Linked DNA regions of Homo sapiens: regions 1, 2, 3, 4, 5 and 6 are each linked to region 7. The links are contacts of gene promoters, found by promoter capture Hi-C in blood cells and fetal thymus (Javierre and others, 2016). All regions are on one chromosome and are shown on one strand. Each heading gives the region's core, a stretch centred on a gene start or on the middle of the fragment in contact. The rest is flanking DNA. Distances are from core to core; before and after follow the strand shown. Region 1 overlaps PLCXD2 (phosphatidylinositol specific phospholipase C X domain containing 2). Region 2 overlaps CD96 (CD96 molecule). Region 3 overlaps CD96 (CD96 molecule). Region 4 overlaps CD96 (CD96 molecule). Region 5 overlaps LOC105374039 (a long non-coding RNA gene). Region 6 overlaps CD96 (CD96 molecule). Region 7 holds the start of ABHD10 (abhydrolase domain containing 10, depalmitoylase).

Region 1 (2,700 bases), core at 30-2,529, 290 kb before region 7:
TACCCTAAACATTTTTCTGGTTTCTCCTAAAGCTTATTATTGTTCTTTCTTGTGTGTTTACAAAAAGGTTGTTAAAGCAAATATGGTTATCTCAGAGCTGAGAAGGCTTATTAGGGAATGACCAAGTGCCCCTTGCAAGGGGTTACTTCACAAAAAGATGACGCCATCTATTTGGAGACAGAGCAGGATGCATGGTAGCAGAATAGAAGAATTTCTTGTGAATGAATTATCTACAATGTCTTATTTGGAGTAGGGATTGGGGTCTATTGGACAATTGAAGAAGAGAAAATCTTTCAAAAGAGAATAGGTACCCCTCCCCATGTAGAGGGCTTTAAAATGCTCCCCCCCACAACATGGGATTGAAAACCCTTTGGCTCACATAAATCATAGGACGTTGGAGCTAACTTGGGGAATACCTTGGGCAATGGAATGCTCATTGTGCCTTGCAGAGCAGGGAAGGTTTAGTACCCTTTGGTGCCCCTCTGGCAATCTCAGGTTAAGGGGTGGAGACTGTTGGGGAGAAACTTCAACTAGAGAAGGTCTGGTTGCATTTGTTTCACACATAGATACTTCATTTGAAAGTATTGCAGGTCTAAAAAGTACCCTGTAAACCTCTGATTTACTTCAATTATCTCTGAGCTCATCCAGCCAGTTGCAGGGGTAGACCAAGACAGACTTTTTTAATTCCCAGGCTGTCTCTCCTCAGACAGTGAGATGCACCTTGGCTTCTCAGCACATAAAAAAGAATAAGTTGATCAACATCCTCTGCTTCCAAGTATTCTGCCTTAAACAGTTGCTTTATTGCATTGTGGATAATTATGAATTTAATAGGCGACTGATTAAAAATTAAATTGGCCACATGGCTCTCTCAGATTTTGCAGGCAGTTTGATGGTTATTATGAATACTCTCCCACATGCCTCATGGAAAATAAACAAGTATGATATGTTGAGAAGAAGGTTTAAAGATGTTATCTTTGGTTCAAGGGACTACTAAGTGGCCCCCCTCATTTGGAATCTTGGACTCATAATGACTAATTTTGTATACCCTAAAGATGCCTCAGCCTTTCTCTACTTGTTAATATGGAGTCAAGCTCTCTACAAATGTCACATTTTTCTCAAGGACCTAATTCAGAAGTGTGAGATTGGTGGCTCCAAAGAGATATTATTAGAATATAATTTATGCAGGCATAAGTTTCAGGAAATCTCTCTGGTACCTTTCTTTTAAAATTGTTCAATGTAATATTTTATTATAGTTGTTCCTTTAGTCATCCTTTCTGGTTAATTTTGTCCTCTATGTTTTCTGACACATTCCTCTTCATTGACCCAGATAACTCAAGCTAGAAGGAAAAAGGGAGATAAATGGAGCTAGGAAACAGGTGCAAGGGGTGAAAAGGAGCAGAGAGTGAACCCTACCTGTTTAATGTTGGATGGACCTAATAGAAGTTTGGGAAAGGATCAGGAGAGCTAGGCCCACCAGCCTTAGGCAACTCTCTGAGCATCTGTTCATTCAAGTATCCATGCTTGTATTTATTCTGTATAGATGCATTTAGTACCTACTAAATTCCAGAAACTAAGTTTGGAGATATAAGCGTGAAGTTGACATGTTCCTGCCCTGAAAGACTTTCACTTAGGTGGCAGAGACAGATGTGGAGATAAATAGCACTCAATGTCCTAAGTTCATCAAATATCAACTCACTGCCATGGAATCACAGAGGAAAGAACAGGTCAGTCTCCTTGGTAGAGTCAGGTGAGCTCACAGACTAATGATGGTAATTAAAATGGAAAGGCAAGGGACAATAAGATTGTCCCCAAGGACTCTAAGGGTTTTTTGTTTTCTTAGACAAGTCTTTTGCTATATTCAATGACCATAAGGCGTACTTATATGTATTAATAACTTTGTAAATTAATATATTCTTAACTCAGGCCTCAAATATTTTAACATGCACAATTATTATCTGTTCATATTAAATTTATTGTAATATTTGTATGGATTAAATACCTGAATTGGAATACAAGATGTTTTTCTATGAAAGCCACCCTAAATATCTTCAGCATTTAAGAACACATGTTCATCCCTCTGTTCTTTATGGGTTTTTTCTTTCTTTCTTTCTTTTTTTTTTTTTTGTTTTTGAGACAGGGTCTTGCTCTGTCACCCAAGCTGGAGTACAGTGACGTGACCATGGCTCACTGAAGCCTCAACCTCCTGGCTCAAGCAGTTCTCCATCTCAGCCTCCTGAGTAGATGAGACTACAGGCACATGCCATCACACCTGGCTAATTTTTTTTTATTTCTAGTAGAGACCAGGTCAGGCTGGTCTCAAACTCCTGAGCTCAAGCGATCCTCTCGCAATGACCTCCCAAAGTGCTGGGATTACAGGCATGAGCCACTGTGCCCAGCCTTTTCTTATATCTTTTATCCTCTCTCTCTCTTTGTTATTCACACAGGAGGCACTATGAAAAAGTAGTTCAGAGTGTAGGTTGTAGGCTCAAATCCTCGCTACTATTAATAGTTGCATGACCTTGAGTAAAAAGCTTTACCCCTCTGTCTGTTAGTTTTTTCATCTGTAAAATTGAGATAATTATAATATCCACTTCAAAAGTGCAAAGTTAGAGGAAGCACAAGCTGGAAGACTACCCTCACTCTGATACCAGTTACAGGTTTGGGAGCCTTAAGATCACCCTTGTTTGATAATTTGCTAGG
Region 2 (2,861 bases), core at 247-2,746, 330 kb before region 7:
AAAGGTAATTTTAAGAGATTTCCAGCTGCTTTTTTTACCAGAGTGGGCTTTTACTGCCCTTTTCTTTTTTTCCCAAGCAGAAAAGAAAGTAAGCATTGGGTTACCCCATTTTTGTCTTATTGAAATATTTTCCAAAAGCCTTCTCCAATCGGCAGTCTGAAATGGTACATAAGGTTAAGCCTCATTTTTCTGACTTGCTATTTTGAGTCAGTCTGGGTTGGGCCATAACTGGAAGGGACCCCAGTACCCAGAACTGATCTTCCACTTGTCTTACTACTACTCTAAGATAACATTAACCATTGTGCCATATACTTTCCTACCTTTTGCAGAGTATCCTTGAAGACTCTGTAACCACATACAGGGAGTGGTGAACAAAACACTAAACCAGTAGTTAGAAATTCTGGATTATTTTCCAAGGACTACAATTTGGCCACCACATGACCTTGAGAAACTCATAATTCCCCAAAAAACAAAAGTAAAACAAAAGTGCATGTTTCGTAGAATTACCTATTAATACATATGAAGTCTCCATTAAAGCATCTAAAAATTGGGTAATAGGGATTAGAGAGCTTTATATTAAATGAACAAATGAAATCTGAAAATCTGAACTGATTTTTTAAATTGTTCTGTATTCAAATGTTTGTTTTATATGGAGATGAGAATCAATCTCTCTATCCTCCTTCCCCCACTACCCACTCTTTATCTCTCCTAAGATGCTATGGATTGCCAGGGCATAGAGGTGTTTGAGTGATGAACATAAAGATGTTCACAGATATATTTCTGTTGCCTGATATCAAGATAGCTAGAGCATTTGTATAGCTAAATTCCATACTAACTTGGCTCTTTAATGCATTTCGGAAAAAGAGATTACTTGTACTAACATAAAATAGTTCTTTGTACAAAGATGACTTTAAGAATGTTCACTGATTCAAACAAAAGGGATTTAGGCATTATCTAGCCAGTACTCGGGGATTGAGAAGAGCTTTACTTCCCATCTCTACCCTATCCCCGCAGTACATAGTGAGTGTTTGGGCAAAGGCTGGGGCTAGGGTTAGCAAAGAGGCTGTATGAAAAGCTTCAGTCTTAAATCCTAGGATTTTAAGATTTAGTCTCTGGAGGAATATTTTAATCCACATAAAAGAAACATTTCTTCTATTAGGAGGCAGTTGTCATGGAGAGTATCAGTTCTGGTGAAAAGACTTGAATTGTTGGTCTGGTTCTCTTGAGCAAGTTGTTTAAAACCTCTGAGCCTCAGTTTTATCTGTAGAATGGTGATGCATTTCCTGCACACAAAGTAAATAATGTTATGATACATTTCCTGCACACAAAGTAAATAATGTTATGATAAAAATGCTCAGTTTTATCTGTAGATGGTGAGGCAATTTCTACATACAAAGTAAATAATGTTATGATAAAAATTCTTTGCAAACTACAAAATACCGTATAGATCATGAGGTTCAAATGTGACTAACAGGCACAGGGTTATGCCAGCAAAAATGCTGAAAGAACTGGGAGAGTATGTCTCTTTCTCATCAATCTGTGTTCTCCTTTAAAGAAACAACACATGTCTGTGTGTGTGTGTGCATAAGACTCCCTCAATTCTTAGCATTGAAAGACCAATATTTTGTTCCTAGAATGGAAAGACCTCCACCTTTCAAGCCACCACCACCTCCCATCAAGTACACTTGCATTCAAGAGCCCAACGAAAGTGATCTGCCTTATCATGAGATGGAGACCCTCTAGTCTCGTGAGACTTTGCCCCATGGCAGAACTCTGCTGGAATCCTATTGAGAAGGTAGACATTGTGCTTTATTAATATAGTCGCTCTTCAGCCATGCCTTTGCTGCAGCTGAAATGGAAGTCAGAAGTGAGTGACCTGTTTTCCCAGCAACTCACCCTCTTCCATCTCCAAACGCCTGAAGCTTAACCAAGAGTGAGAGGATATGTCATGTTCACACTCAATGCAATTCGTAGTGGTTTTCTTGCTTATGTAAGAAGTACATATTAGTCTGCCATCTTTAAAAAAAAATACAGTATTTTCATTTAAATTCTCTGATGGAGGGACAACAATGGTTTCAACTGTATGCCCATGCCTGATCCTCTTATTTGAACATCTATCAACATTGTAAACTCTTTGCCAAAATCCTGGGGCTTTGCTGCATTCCCTAAGATAATTACAGGAAAAAGAAAATGTAAAAGTGCTAACAAGGCTGCCAAGTAATGGAGAAGTATGGTTAGTCTTCATATTGAAATTCTGTTGCTTATTTTCATGGAAGGAAACAGAATACTTTGCACAGGAACCACATTTTCAATCCTCCTTCACTGTCTTCCTACCATGTTCAGCCCAGACTCCTGCCACATGGACCAGGATGAAGAGGGATCAAAGAGATAATTAGCCAAAAACCCAGTAGCCTAGAAGATACAAAACTCCACTGGCCTCTAAAATTATATTAGCCAAGAGTGGTTTCATTTGAGTGCCTTCGTGTGTATGTCCATCAAACTGGAACCAAACTGTTTTGTAAGTAAACAGGCAGCCTAAGCCCAACCCTACTTTCTAATTCCAGTTATTCTCTTTTTCATCTGGGGATTTACCTGTTCATTTAATCTGCCTGTTTTGATCTGTTTTGAAAAAGATAAAGAGCCTCAAATCAGACCAGCACTGATTAATTAACCCTGCTCCTACCAATCTTTTTTAAAGCAGTTGAAGCAGAATGTATAGGTGTCAGAGAAGAAACCTAGTCAGCCAGACGTGCTCTGTATTCAGCAATAGTTTGTGAATGAATAAATTACTAATCCTCCTTGTCGCTTGAAACCTTCCCACACTCCCTGCTCCAGGAGGGAAAAACAGATGTTGTTGACAG
Region 3 (2,796 bases), core at 174-2,673, 370 kb before region 7:
ATGTTTGGAATAATTTTCTGTTTGATTTTGTATGTCAATAAAACTCATGTTAAACCAGTGGCAGATTATGTCTAAATAAACTTATCTTTTTGGAATAATCACTGAATTACTATTGAAAAATCCAAATTTTGCCTTGGCAAACTGGAGGGTAATTGTGAAATCACACGATGACTTCCTGCCTCAGAAGCTGGTAGGATTCACCTTTGCATGTTCTTTGAAGAAAGGAAGTGAGATGAAGTATGTCACGGAAACCAACTTCAAAGGCTGTGGTTTCATTCCGAATTCTAAGATGTAATGAGCTTTATAATCCAGTCATCATTACGAAGCTGCATGTCTGGCTGCAAGCATCCAATTCTTATTTTTTCCTCGATGAAAGGATATTTTTTAAACAAATGTTGAAGGTCATGAAAGCAATATTCTTTAATGAGGGGAGGAGAACTTAATAACTCATAACAAACTGTAAGAGTTATCCAGGGAAGCCCAGCTCAATTCAACCTGAACCAATTCGTGTTTGCTGAGTCCCAGCTGCATTCTCAGCGCAGTTCAAGGAAGACAGGCTGACAAGCTAAGTGGCAAGATGAGACAAGTCCATGTGGAACAATCAGAGACAACTGATGAATCCAGGGTGGGGCTGTACAGACACAATTCAGGAGTTTCCGTCGCCTTGAGGAGAGAGCCCTGTGCCTTTCAATTCACTGGCTATGATTTGGCTAAGAGTTACGTAGCCTAAGAGATGCCAACCCGGTGTGGCAATCATCCAAGACACTTATTCATGAAACTCATAAGTATGGAGCGCCTACAATGTGTCAGGGACTTTTGAGGTACAGGATACAGTGATGAACAAGACAGACAGGGCTCCTGTTGCTTACAGAGCTTACGATCCTGTGTGACCCACTTGCCTTGCCTCCTGTTTTACTGCCCATCAGTCCCTTTGGCTCTGCCTCCTATTGTTATGTCTGCACATGACCCTTAGACCTGATGATGTTGATTTTAATATTAAGCCCTTTCTAAGGACTTAGCTGGTCCTCACTATCTGGGTCTTTCTATTCCTGGATACTTAGAGTAAAACACTAGGTCCAGTCTGCCTCTAACCCTCAGCCAGCACCCCAGGTAGACATAACTGATCTTCGGCAAGTGGATGATCAGACATTGAGGGGCACAGGGTAAAGGAAGCAACTGACCAGGGGATGCAACAAAACTACTGATTTATGAGTAAGCATGTCAGAAATGGTGGGGGATCAACCCAGAAGACATGTCATTAGATGAGATTAGAAGAAAGTAAATCAGAAATTCGGCAGTTGATAGGGGCATTGGATTCTAGTGTTAACAGGGGAACGCCAGAGAGAGTCTGCAAGACAGTGAGAAGGCTCCAGTGATTTGTTTGTGATAGCAACTTCTGACCCCTTTGCTAGTCATGCCATGCCTGTATTCAGGTGCCTCAATTGCTGTCCAATAGTTTCTGCCTTTATCAACATGTATCTGCTGCTGAAAAGTAAGAAAAGTCAGTGAGTGCTGGGGGAAAGGAAGGGGGATCAGGGAAGTCTTCATGCAGGGTCTGGAAGAAAATACTGACTCAGGTGGAAGAAAGATGAGAAATGGATCTTCACATTCGCATCATAAGCAAAGGCGTAAAACAAAATGAGTGCAGGACATGAGAAGACAAGCAGGAGTTCTGACATTGCTTGTTGGGAGAGGGCTAAGGGTTGATTAGGTGGGGTGGAACAAGGTAAAGATGAGCTTCAACTCATTTAGCCCCAATTCATAGCCCACAGCCCAGCATGTCTCCTTTATGCTGGACTGAAGGTCAGTGCCCATGTTATCCTGACCACGCAGATTGATGAGGCCGATTCAAATGTGTTTAGATGTAGTTGAAGGCCTGTATTGTCCAGTTAATGTCACTACTGTGTTTAAACGTCAACTAATGGGCTATGAATCGGGGCTGTGATCTGAACAACAAATAGCCACTATGGCTTTTTTTGTATGTGGGAAAATGTCAGGAAAACAGCAGTTATGTATATGGTAGGTGATAGTTGCAAGAGCAGGGAGAAAAAAGACTAAATGATATAGATTTAAAGTGGTTTAAGTTTGTTTTCCATGATCACGAAGGTGGTTAAAAAAATGATATGATCTGAACTAGAATGGGCATTTGTAGAAATGGAGAGTGCTGCAACAGAGGCTCACCAGGATTGTCTGCCTAAATACAGGGACTAAAAAGGTTTTCAGAGAACAATCATACAAGGACCTTTCCATTTTTTCCCTAGCAATTACATAAAAATGTTTACCAACTGCCATGATTGTATAATAATACTAAGCAATAATATTAATATTTGTTGGTTGCCTCCAATGTGTATGGACTGTTCTAAACTAGTAAATGTATTTTCTCATTGAATCCTCCCAACAACACAATTACTTAGGTACTATTATTATCCCACTTTACAGATGAAGATACTGAGGCACAAAGAGGTTAAATAACTCACCCAAAGTCATGCAGAAAGTAGATGAGCCAGTATTGAGCCCAGACAGACTTCAGACCTTGAGTCCTGCTGCCTCAAAGAGTACATGGTTGGTGCTGAATAAATGTCTTTAGACACTGAATAAATCCCTTCTAGTGTGAAGCTGTTATAGGTCTTAGGAAAAGGTCAAACATGACACCTATGCTTATATTAATCTCTCCCTTTTTCAGACCAGTGTTTTCCTGAGACATGCAGCATCTGAGAGTGAAGATAACATTTCCTCAGTTGGAAATAAATTAGAGAAACCCCTCCTGCATCTGTAGCCCACCCCCGCCATCAACAC
Region 4 (2,700 bases), core at 99-2,598, 390 kb before region 7:
TTCATATCACTCGCTACCTTTGTTATGTTTGAAATAAATTAGGAAAAAAAATCTAAAGAAAATTATCTGTCATGAAACATAGGAAACAAAAGCAGTTTGGGGTTAAGTTGCCTACAAAGGAAGAGAGGCTACAATATTAATAACCATGTAAAACAGATACCAGAGGCCAGAAGCAGTGGCTCACGCCTGTAATCCCAACACTTTGGGAGGCCGAGGTGCGCGGATCATGAGGTCAAGAGATCCAGACCATCCTGGCCAACGTGGTGAAACCTTGTCTGTGCTAAAAATACAAAAATTAGCTGGGCGTGGTGGCACGCACCTGTAGTCCCAGCTACTCAGGAGGCTTAGGCAGAAGAATTGCTTGAACCCAGGAGGCGGAGGTTGCAGTGAGCCAAGATCGCGCCACTGCACTCCTGCCTGGCAAGAGAGTGAGACTCCATCTTAAAAAAAAAAAAAAAAAAAAAAAAGACACCAGAACCTAAATACCACACTGGTTGGCATCAGCAGAGCTCCAGCATCTTTGTGCAGAATTTGATTATTTGTGTTTATTTGGTTTGGGTTTTGCAAAGCTTGAACCCTGTGGTTTCCTCAAGCTTCCTAAGCCCCACTCCAAAAATATGTGTTTTGGTTTTCATTTTTTAAATAATTAGGTATTACAGCCTCCTTTTTTTTCCTAGCATCTTTTGCAACATAATAAGGTTCTGAGTCCAAATGTCCAGCCGTCGTCACTTGCACTGGTGAGCACCTGAGCTTGCACCACAGGTAGAGAAGGTTCTAAAAGGGCATCATACCTCTGTGGGGAGACCACATGACAAATGAAATCTTTAATATCAGGCAGATCTCTAGATAAAAAAAGAACATGACGGGACTTCAGTGTGGCCTGGTTATTTCACAAGCCTGGTGCCTGGACTTTTGTTTGTTCTACAAACAGCTGTTAGGGAAGACAGGTCTAGAAGTGAGGGCTGCCTAGCAAGTCTAGGAAGAATATGAGTGAACTACATAGGTCAGGGCCAAAGGAGGCAAGACACCACTGTTACACAAGGACATCCTCTGCTTCCAGAGAGGTTGGTGCCCACAAAGTACTTGGGCTATCTCTGAGATAATGGGATGCTGTCTTTATCTATTCCTGTCTTCCCAAGCTCTTTCCCCACTCCATCCCCATTCCCAACCCACATTATGTTTTGTTTTTTAATGTGTGTGTTTGGTTGGAGGAGGGTGGTGTGGTTATAGAGGAATCTGTCTTCTATAACAAATATCAGGTCCAGTGCAGAGGCCAGAGTACTTTCCAGTTTGATTTTATTCTATTTCTAAATTAATATTTTAGGCATACTTTCAGCAGCCCAGGAAATTACTCTCTCCCTATAGACTGTTAGGATCTCTTTTTTCAAAGCATCTCTGAACATTTAAAGGTAAACAGTTTTTAAAAATCAGTGAACAGTGGATTGGCATGCAGTTAGCATTTCAGAGGTATGAGTAAAATCTAAAACCTACTGTTCAAATAAATAACTGGTCTGTAGGCACAAAGCAAAATCAAGTTAACTCATTAAAATTAACTTCAGGATCTAAGAAAATGTACTCCATCCTTCCCTCATTCAGACAGTCATGTTCTCTTCCATTTTCATGATAAATTTTCCCTAGAGCACTGTCTCTCTTCCCCATCTTTGCATTTCTTCTCTATCCCATTTATTTCTAACTTTCCTTCCTCTGTTCTTTATTTCTCCTTACTTCCTTTATATCTCTGCCTTCTTTTCATTCTGAATTTCTTTCAGTTCTTCCTCACTAACTCCTTTTCCTTTGACAAACCTTAATATGAAATCAGATTATATTTTAACTATTTATGAATAAGTTTTATATAATCTATACTGAATGTTTAAACTAAGTAAGTTGAGAGGTTTTTCATTTCTCTGTGCTAATTACACATTAATTAGTTTAAGCATTAGGTTGTTAAAAAGACACACCGGACTCAGATTATACTGATGAAACAACTTTAATATAAGCAAGAAAATACATTGCAGCAATAACAGGAGAAAGAGACGCATTGGAAAGGTCCAAAGATCTGAGGCTCACAGTTCTTTGTCCTTCCACTTGCTGGGTCACACAGAACAAGCTTTTATTCATACTGGTGGTCTGGAAACTCCACCAGTACATGTGCTAAGACCTCAGTCCTAGGAAGATTAAGCTCTGCTTCCGGCAGGGTGTCTGCAAGTGAGCTGGTCACATAGGCACATTCCAGCTACCTAACCAGCCTCAGCCCTCAAAATCGTCAGCTCCACCAAAACCGAGTGCTAGGCAAAAATCTGATTATTTTGTTAAACAACGCTGACTGGCTGGTACATTCTGCCCTGAAACAACTCACAGAGTTTTACTTTGGTAGAAGCATTTATCTTTAATAGGTACATTTTAGAGTTTCGGCCAAGGGTCAGCAGAGCTCTAGGAACCTCGTAGATAAGCATTTGGTCAATTCAGACCTGCTCAGATTAACTCATACTGTGCACTATTTCACATAAAAGCAAAATGTCACCAAACTACTTTGCTTTACATTTGAGTTGAAACTAAAATGGCTCTTTTCTACAAGTCTAGAGTCAATGTTTTCAGAATAGATTCTCCAAGCCCAATTTAAACAAAATGGAAGGGATGTACTGCTGCAGGCAGCTCTTTCTCCCGCTGGCATGCCTCCTTCTCAGCCCTCACCTTCCACTT
Region 5 (2,889 bases), core at 138-2,637, 450 kb before region 7:
TTCCATTTTGGCCGGTGAGTCAATTGCTCAATTACTTTTACTACCTAATATTATTTTAAACAAAGGAGATAAGACATGGGGCCCTGCGATGGGCTCCGGCAGTGAAAAAGCTGCTTATAGGATTAATGTAATTTCTAAACAACAGCCCACCTGCACCATACACATTCAAGGAAAAAAGTTTGACGGCCTAGTAGATACTGGGGCTGATGTTTCTATTATTTCCTCTAATTTATGGCCTTCCTCCTGGCTTAAACATCCCGCTAACATGGGACTAGTAGGTGTTGGAAAAGCTGATGAATTTCACCAGAGCACATTTATCTTGCCTTGCACTGGTGCTGATGGTCAAAAGGGTACAATTCAGCCTTATATCACACCAACCCCCATTAATATTTGGGGTAGAGATTTGCTGGCGCAGTGGGGGGCTGAAATTAATATTCCATGTAACTCTTATAGTGTTCCCAGTCAACATATAATGGAAAACATGGGGTTTGTTCCCAGACTTGGTCTCGGTCCAAGACATGAAGGAATTACTAAACCTCTTCAAGTTACTGTAAAAGAAGACAGGGCTGGTTTAGGTTATCCCTTTTAATGACGGCCACTGCCATGCCTCCTAATCCTGTAACTTTGTAATGGAAATCTGAAACACCTGTTTGGATTCAGCAGTGGCTGCTCTCTAAAGAAAAACTGGAGGCTTTAACTCAATTGGTTTCTGAACAGTTATAAGTTGGAAATGTGGAACCGTCTCTTTTGTCCTGGAATTCTCCTGTGTTTCCAGTAAAAAAAAAAAAAAAAAAAAAAAAAAATTCAGGTGAGCGGAGGATGGTAACTGATTTAAGGGCCATTAATGCTGTAATTAAACCTATGGGACCTGTCCAACCCGGCGTGCCTGCCCCTGCTTTAATACCTAAAAATTGGCCTCTCATAGTGATTGACCTTAAAGACTGTTTCTTTCATATTGTTTTACATAAATCGGATTGTGAAAAATTTGCTTTTACTGTACCATTATCAATAATCAGGAGCCTGCAGCTCATTATGAATAGAAAGTACTTCCTCAGAGACAGGCTGTGGTGGAATGGGCCAATCGCACTTTCAAAACTCCATTGTCCAAACAGTCTGAGCAACAAAAGCATAATGTAACCACTCCCCACTCCCAATTACATTTAGCATTGTTTACTTTAAACTTTCTAAATGTTCCTAAAGACAATACTCTGACTGCAGCTGAACGCCATTATACAGGGAAAAAATTCTCCCTAAATGGAAGCAAGCCAGTATTATGGAAAAACTCCCAGACCAATACCTGGGAACCTGGAACAATTTTAATGTGGGGACGAGGGTATGCTTGTGTTTCACCTGGAGATCATCAATCCCCTGTCTGGGTGCCCACTAGAAGACTTAAACTTCCTGTAAATACTGACAATGAAAACCACAAGGAAAAGACATCTGCGTCAGAGACCGCCATCATACCTGGTGAGATCTGTGCCGACTCTGCAGAAACTGGCATGCCAAATCAAAATGGGTCTGGTTTAATCCTCCCTAATGGCAATGGAGACCCCTCTAACTAATCCCACTTCTCCTAATTCCCTTTCTTTTTCTCCTTATGAACCTAAAAATCTCGCCATTTCTATTAGTCTGAAAATAACAACCCTCTGTTCTTCTCTTCTTCCTTCAGCACTGGACCTTGCTTAAATTGGTTTTATTTAATAATTCTCCTCCTTATACTTTCTGTCTCACCAGTTTCCCCTCAAACTGATTTACCTGCTACACAAAATTATTCTTATTGGGCTTATGTGCCTTTTCCTCCACTTATTCGAACTTTCACCTGGATGGATGCTCCTGAGGAAATCTATACTAACGATCGTGTGTGGATGCCTGGAGCTAGAGATGACCGTTGCCCTGCTCAACCAGGAGAAGAGGGCATTGCATTTAATGTTACTATGGGTTATAAATACCGTCCTCTGTGCCTCGGACATGCACCTGGTTGTATCCATCTAGAAACTCAAGTCTGGTCTGCTTATCTTCCAGAGAGATTAGCTACAAGGGAAGGAGGACATTTGGTCTCCGGCCTCTCCCTTTCTCCTTTAAGACAAATAAAAAGGGGAGTAATAGGAGATACCCCATACTTTCAATATAAACCTGTAGGAAAACCATGTCCTAAAAATTTTGAGGGCCCATCTAAAACTTTAATTTGGGAAGACTGTGTTAACTCACATGCAGCAGTATTAAAAAAAACCCATATGGTTTAGTAATAGGCTGGGCACCAAAGGGCTATTTAAAAAACAATTACTCCTCTGGCAGAAGGGAATGCCTGGAGGGTACTTATTTTATTTCTTATTGGGAGGGCGAGGATCATCATCCTACTTTGCGTAGGAGGTTCAGCTCATTCTTTCCCTTAAAATGGGAATATAAGGGCATTACCCCCCACCTGAGGCCTCATATGATATTCCCCATTCTGAGCCCAGAACACCCAGAACATAGGAAATTGGCTATTGTCATGTCCAGACTCTGAGTATGGGAGGGGGAAACTTTTCTGTCTGTTGTCCCCACTACCGCCCCTTGCATCCGTGATTCTGAACCCCATGGTAAATCCCCTTTGAACCCTTTTCCTCTTTTTGATGCTGATCCTACTTTATGGGACTCCAATTGGCATAATAATAATTCTTCTCAACCCGGGTATACCCCTCCACCTCTTCAGCATCCCTGGGCACCTCAGATTGCTTCTTTACAGCGGAGAACATCGGGCATTGCCACCACCACTCCTCTCCCTCAGTATCGACATAGATTCAAACATTCTGCTTTGTTTACCTCCAACCTGACTATTCCTATACAGAGTTGTGTTAAGCCTCCTTACATGCTGTTAATGGGAAATATCAAAATTTGGACAAACAGTCA
Region 6 (2,882 bases), core at 347-2,846, 350 kb before region 7:
CTTTGGGAGGCTGAGGCGGGTGGATCACGAGGTCAGGAGATCAAGACCATCCTGGCTAACAGTGAAGCCCCATCTCTACTGAAAATACAAAAAATTAGCCAGGCGTGGTGGTGGGCACCTGTAGTCCCAGCTACTCGGGAGGCTGAGGCAGGAGAATGGTGTGAACCCGGGAGGCGGAGCTCGCAGTGAGCCAAGATCGAGATTGCGCCACTGCACTCCAGCCTGGGTGACAGAGTAAGACTCCGTCTCAAAAAAAAAAAAAAAAAAAAAAGAAATGCTCAGTGTCTCTGGTAATCAGGAAATATAAATGAAGACTAGAATTAGAAAATCATTTTATATGTAATCAGTTTACAAAAATTAAGAAATCTGATATTGCCAACTATTGAATAGGATTTATCCAGCATCCTTTCAACATAATTTCTTATATGTTACTGGTGGTACCATCACTTTCCACCATCCTTTGGCATTGTATTTCAAAGCTGAATATGTGCATACCTACAATCCAACAATTCTATTCCTAGATATAAAAATCCCTCCAAAATTAGTACATCTATGCATGAGATATGCACACAAATGTTTGGAGGAAACACTGTTCATATAGCAAAAACTTTAAGTAATCTAAATGGCCATAGTCAGGAGGACAGATAAATAAATTGTAGTATACTAATAAAATATAATATTAAAGAGCAATGAAAAACAAGTGAATGGCAACCATATACAACAGCATGAATGAATCTTAATAACATTATGTTGAATTAAAAAGTAAATACCAAATAACAACATATGGCATATTTTCTAATGAAATTTTAAAGCAAGTATAAACACCATATGCCTTAGACGTAATATGTGATATAAAATTTTAAGCTTTATAAGTGAATAATAATTATAAACATTCAGGACAGCATTTGCTTTTGATGGAGATATAAGGGATGAGACAGGGAGAAAACATGTATAAATCTGTGTACATGAGTAGGAGTGAGAGGGTATTAAGAGGGTGAAAAATATGTTCAGTAATAAGAAATGGCAAATAGGATGAGATAACTCAATGAAATACTATGAAGCCAGCCAAAACAATAGCCATAACCCTGATCCGTTCTTCTTCACTGGGCAGGACCTCACAGCTGGGGCCTCCAGCCACCCCACCAGCTGTATTCTATGGACAGAACTCTGATGTCTCCTTGGGACAGAGTGCCTTGTGGGAGGGGTGGGCCATCACCTTGGTTGTTTGGATGACTCAGCCCTTCCAGCCTGTAGGCACTGGAAAGTCCAAACGGAACAGAGCAGAGGCAGTTCCACAACACAGTTCCCCAGCACAGCTGTTTTGTTAAGGAATGACCAGACTGCTTCTTTAAACAGACCCAGATCCATTCCTCCTCACTGGGAGGGTCCTCCCAGCCAGGGCCTCTGGCCAGCCCCACCCATGTTCTATGGCCAACAGAGTTCTAATTTCTTCCTGGGACAGAGTGCCCAGTGGGTGAGGCAGACATTTGCTGTTTGGGCATCTCATCCAGTTCAGGCTGTGGGCCTTGAAGAGCCCAAATCAATTGGGTGCTGAAGAGATCTCCAACATAGCACAGCTGCTCTACCAAAATGCAGCCAGACTGCATCTTTAAGCAGGTCCCTGATTCCATTCCTCTTGACTGGGTGAGATCTTCCAACTGGAATCTCCAACCACCTCCTACAGGCACGGTCAGGCCAGCAACAGGTCAGTACCCCCCTGGGACAGAGCTTTCAGAGGAATAGGCAGGTGGCCATATTTGCTGTTTCACAACCTTCACTGATGATACCTCCAGGTACTGGAAAAACCAATGTGACTAGGGTCTGGGGTAGACCCGTAGCAAACCACAGTAGCCCTACAGAAGAGTGCCCAGACTAGTCGTTCAAAGAAAACAAATAAAACACAACAGCAACAACAAAACAAAAAAACCATCCAAAGGTCAGCAAACTCAAAGATCAAAGGCAGATAAGCCCACAAAGATGAGAAAGAATTAGCACAAAAACACTGAAAACTTTAAAAAAAGAAAAAGAAAAAGAAAAAAAACAACAACCAGAATGCTCCCTTTCCTCCAAATAATCTCAACACCTGCCCAGCAATGGTTCAGATCTGGGCTAAGGCTGAGATCACTGAAATGACAGAAGTAGCCTTCAGAATATGGATAAAAATGAAGTTCACTGAGCTAAAGGAGCACATTGTAACCCAATGCAAAGAAGCTAAGAATCATGATAAAACAATGCAGGAGTTGACAGCCTAAATAGCCAGTACAGAGAGGAACATAACCAATCTGATAGAGCTGAAAAACACACTACAAAAACTTCACAATGCAATCACAAGCTTTAATAGCAGAATAGACCAAGTGGAGGCAAGAATCTCAGAGCTTGAAGATTGTCTTTCTGAAATAAGACAGGCCAACAAAAACAGAAAACAGAGTGAAAAAAATGAACAAAACATTTGAGAAACAGGGGATTATGCAATGAGACTGAATCTATGACTGATTGGGGTACCTGAAAGAGACAAGAATGGAACCAACTTGGAAAACATACCATCCAGGAGAACTTCACCAACCTAGCAATACAAGCCAACATTAATTTCAGGAAATACAGAGAACCCCAGTAAGATACTCCATGAGAAGATCATTCCCAAGACACATAATCGTCAGATTCTCCAAGGTCAAAATGAAAGAAAAAAATGGTAAGGGCAGGCAGAGAAAAAGGCCAGGTCACCTACAAAGGGGAAGCCCATCAGACTAACAGTGGACCTCTCAGCAGAAATCCCACAATCCAGAAGAGATTGGGAGCCTACATTCAACATACATAAAAAAGAATTTTCAACCCAGAATTTCATATCTGGCCAAACTAAGCTTCATACATAAGGAAGAAATAAT
Region 7 (2,933 bases), core at 24-2,523:
ACTACGTAAAACTCCATGGTTGATGCTTGAGGCCCCCAGGAATTAGTTTGAAAGGTATTTAGAGCTGGAGTCCGGAAACCCTTGTACTACAATTTATTCAACTATTTTTCTATTGTTAGCCATTCCCATTTTTTTCCTTCTCTTTGCCTCTAAAAACGGTGTAGTAGATAATATGCAGTCTTAAGAACTAGTGTTGTTTTTCTATAGGATAATCACAAATTGGTGCCACTGCGTTAAAAGGCACTGGAATGGATGCATATTTTAAAATTGTAATAGATGTGGCCATATTACTTCACAACAAATTTTAGTAATTCACCTTCCTAGCAATCATACATAAGTGCTAGTGTCTAGCATCCTTGCCAATTATTTTTCTTTTTTGCCAACTGAATGGGGGGAAAAAGGCATTATTTTTTTAATTCCAGTTTTTCATTTAGTGAGTTTGAGCATCATGTTTCCTTATATGGGCTGCCTATTTATAGCTGTTGGCCAATTTTATTTGAATTATATTTCTTATTTATAGGAGCAGGCTGAGTAGAAGTATTAATGTATCTATGCTACAAAATCCATTTTTCTAAGCTCTTAACTTGAGGTGTCTTTTGCCATTCAAAAAGTTTAAATTCGTATACAAATATATTTTTTATTTATGATGTTGGGGTTTTGAAATCTTGGTTAAGAAAGTCCCTTCTGTCCCCGGATTATATAATATTCTCCTAAAATTTATTTAATCCTCTCAGTTGTATTCTTCCGTTGAAATCTTTTTTTACTGAAATTTATTTTCGCATATAGCACGAGGAGGGGGCCAAGATAATTCAGTATTTCGTTAATCAGGCATATAGATCTAGAGCGGGGAATGTCCGATACCATTCCAGGTTATACAGGCGAGATTAATGTCAGATCTTGGGAGCATTTCCAGTACAGGTTAAAACTGTCACGCGGTCGGCGGGATTGCAGGTGATGCAGCAAGCCTGGTGTCCTCGACAGGAGACGTTTCCCATCTAGGACCGTTGGATAGGGTTCCTTTCTGAGCTTCCAGCTCTGTAGTATCTATCAGCCCGCTGATAGGGCAGCCTCCCGACGCCACTCAAAACATCTTAAAGGCCCCAAGCCAAACCCCGCTACTAGTAGAACCAACAGTCTAAACGAAAGAGCCACGACGCTCTGCGCATGTGCGCTCTTCGCAAGCTGAAAATCTTGCGGGGAGCTCTTTAGCAAGTTCCGCCTTCCAGCCTGAAGCGCATGCGCAGCCTCGGTTCCGTTGCGTAGCGTGTCCCTCAGTGGGACACTGCAGGGTGCGGGGACAACTACGAAGATGGCGGTTGCGCGCTTGGCAGCTGTGGCGGCCTGGGTACCTTGTCGGAGCTGGGGCTGGGCAGCCGTCCCCTTCGGTCCCCACCGTGGCCTCAGCGTGCTGCTTGCACGGATACCTCAGCGGGCGCCACGGTGGCTCCCAGGTCAGTGTCCGAAAGGCGGGAGTAGGATGCGTTCTTTCGAACGCCTCGGGTTCCGTCAGTTACCGTGCCTGTGCAGTGCGTCTTTGGCGCCCGGTTCAAAAATGCTCCTCCCCCTTTCTCAACACCCCAGTTCTAGGCGCTTTGTAGACTTCTGGTGAAGGCTGTGAGGAGAGCTCTGCCGCGGCCCTGCGGCATTCTGGGCACCCCGGGCCCTCGCTGGCGTTTTACACTGTGCAGTTTAAAGAGCTCCTGCTCCTTACCTGCCTCCCCTGCATTAAAGGCCAACACTAGAAAAAATTAAAATGTGCATTTAATGCATTATTATTAGTTACTTCTAGGAATTTGTAGATTGTGACTCCTAAAATGCTTAGACTGACTCTCCTTTGAGTTTAGGGAACCTAACAATGCGAGGCATGTTCTTTGTAAAAGTGTAGACGCCCTCATAAGCCTAATTTCTAGTTCTGCTTTCTTGCTGCACCCACTCAGTGAAAGAACCATAATCATTATTGCACAAAGGAAACTAGAATTTGGGCTAAAAATCAGAGAACCTCTTATATGTATATATAGTCTTTGAATTAGATCCTTTTATTTTTTTGGCTTTGTGTGTGGTTCACACCATTGCCACGTAGCTGTCAGATGATGCATGGTGCTTGGAGTGGTAATTAATGTCACGGCAGAGATCTTTTGTATGGAGATTTTTGTATCCAGTTTTTAAACTTTTATAATCAGATTAACTTGCATTTAATTGTGCGCAACCAAAAGGCATGTTACACATGCAAATACTCCTAGTAAAATGTAGTATGTCAATTCATTAACCAGAGTATAATATTATTTCATCTAGTTAGCACTTATTCATTGAGCACTTATGCACCAGGCTTTGAATTAATCCTTATGTTCAAAGATGATTTATGAATATAATTATATGAATCTGTCTACTTAGAACTTACATTAAATAAATTATAATCATCTCGGGGAAATTATGTTTTAAGAGGTGATTTCTGGAAGAGGATAGTGAGAATTTTTTTTAGTGCTCAGCTGAGTAGATGGGAAATGAACATGAGTGGATCAGCATAACTGGTCCTTACCAAAAGTTTTAAATTTGGCATATTTCTCTATACTTTGAAACAAGCTTTTATGTAAAAAGGATAACTTTAAGGCCTTCAGTTACATCTTTAAAAAATCAACTTCTTAATTACAAAATGGGGAAAACTTTAGCAGCACACATGGATTCTCTTCTCAAGACTGAGAAGTTTTCAAAGTGGAGGACGGCTTCATTTAATATAAAAAAAGAAAATGTATTAGTCCAAAGACTCTAAGGAAGTACACAAAACTAGTGTCTTTGGAAAGAAGAGGTGGGATTATAAATGACTCTTTTAAAAAAATATCTACTTGTTTCTTAAGAGCAAGTATAGATTTTATAATGGGGGAAAATTTGAAAAAGATGAAGTAGGATAATCTTATGAAGTTCACCAATTGTACTGT

The links. Contacts are between HindIII fragments. The CHiCAGO score rates a contact against its expected background, and 5 or more counts as called.
Region 1: a contact is called between a fragment that was not itself captured here and the fragment with the promoter of ABHD10 in region 7, in 17 of 17 cell types (naive B cells, naive CD8 T cells, total B cells and 14 more). The highest score is 13.6, in naive B cells.
Region 2: a fragment that was not itself captured here is called in contact with the fragment with the promoter of ABHD10 in region 7 in 8 of 17 cell types (monocytes, total B cells, naive B cells and 5 more); the score reaches 7.2 in monocytes.
Region 3: a contact is called between a fragment that was not itself captured here and the fragment with the promoter of ABHD10 in region 7, in 6 of 17 cell types (activated CD4 T cells, total B cells, naive CD8 T cells and 3 more). The highest score is 7.1, in activated CD4 T cells.
Region 4: a contact is called between a fragment that was not itself captured here and the fragment with the promoter of ABHD10 in region 7, in 6 of 17 cell types (activated CD4 T cells, naive B cells, total CD8 T cells and 3 more). The highest score is 6.8, in activated CD4 T cells.
Region 5: a fragment that was not itself captured here is called in contact with the fragment with the promoter of ABHD10 in region 7 in 1 of 17 cell types (M2 macrophages); the score reaches 6.5 in M2 macrophages.
Region 6: a contact is called between a fragment that was not itself captured here and the fragment with the promoter of ABHD10 in region 7, in 1 of 17 cell types (naive CD4 T cells). The highest score is 5.0, in naive CD4 T cells.

Annotation. Positions count from the first base shown.
Region 1 is chr3:111,685,575-111,688,274 of GRCh38, forward strand. The region is part of intron 1 of PLCXD2 (phosphatidylinositol specific phospholipase C X domain containing 2); the gene reads left to right. Among named protein-coding and RNA genes, the nearest start is that of PLCXD2-AS1, 9.5 kb to the left of the region's middle. The HindIII fragment of the contact is 2,499 bases long and covers 31-2,529 here.
Region 2 is chr3:111,648,064-111,650,924 of GRCh38, forward strand. CD96 (CD96 molecule) reads left to right here. Exons shown (of 14, transcript NM_005816.5): 14 at 1,635-2,861. The coding sequence ends at 1,743. Among named protein-coding and RNA genes, the nearest start is that of PLCXD2, 25 kb to the right of the region's middle. The HindIII fragment of the contact is 847 bases long and covers 1,074-1,920 here.
Region 3 is chr3:111,610,141-111,612,936 of GRCh38, forward strand. All of the region lies in intron 8 of CD96 (CD96 molecule), which reads left to right. Among named protein-coding and RNA genes, the nearest start is that of ZBED2, 16 kb to the left of the region's middle. RefSeq lists an enhancer at 1-897 and a silencer at 290-339. The HindIII fragment of the contact is 7,617 bases long and covers 1-2,796 here.
Region 4 is chr3:111,590,929-111,593,628 of GRCh38, forward strand. The region is part of intron 5 of CD96 (CD96 molecule); the gene reads left to right. It overlaps ZBED2 (zinc finger BED-type containing 2), which reads right to left. Exons shown (of 2, transcript NM_024508.5): 2 at 1,972-2,700. The coding sequence ends at 2,617. Among named protein-coding and RNA genes, the nearest start is that of ZBED2, 3.1 kb to the right of the region's middle. The HindIII fragment of the contact is 1,514 bases long and covers 592-2,105 here.
Region 5 is chr3:111,525,709-111,528,597 of GRCh38, forward strand. The region is part of intron 2 of LOC105374039 (a long non-coding RNA gene); the gene reads left to right. Among named protein-coding and RNA genes, the nearest start is that of CD96, 15 kb to the right of the region's middle. The HindIII fragment of the contact is 8,676 bases long and covers 1-2,889 here.
Region 6 is chr3:111,626,058-111,628,939 of GRCh38, forward strand. All of the region lies in intron 10 of CD96 (CD96 molecule), which reads left to right. Among named protein-coding and RNA genes, the nearest start is that of ZBED2, 32 kb to the left of the region's middle. The HindIII fragment of the contact is 1,468 bases long and covers 863-2,330 here.
Region 7 is chr3:111,977,753-111,980,685 of GRCh38, forward strand. ABHD10 (abhydrolase domain containing 10, depalmitoylase) reads left to right here and starts at 1,274. Exons shown (of 5, transcript NM_018394.4): 1 at 1,274-1,451. The coding sequence starts at 1,310. RefSeq lists enhancers at 916-1,475, 1,334-1,383, 1,394-1,443, 1,464-1,513. The HindIII fragment of the contact is 3,690 bases long and covers 1-2,578 here.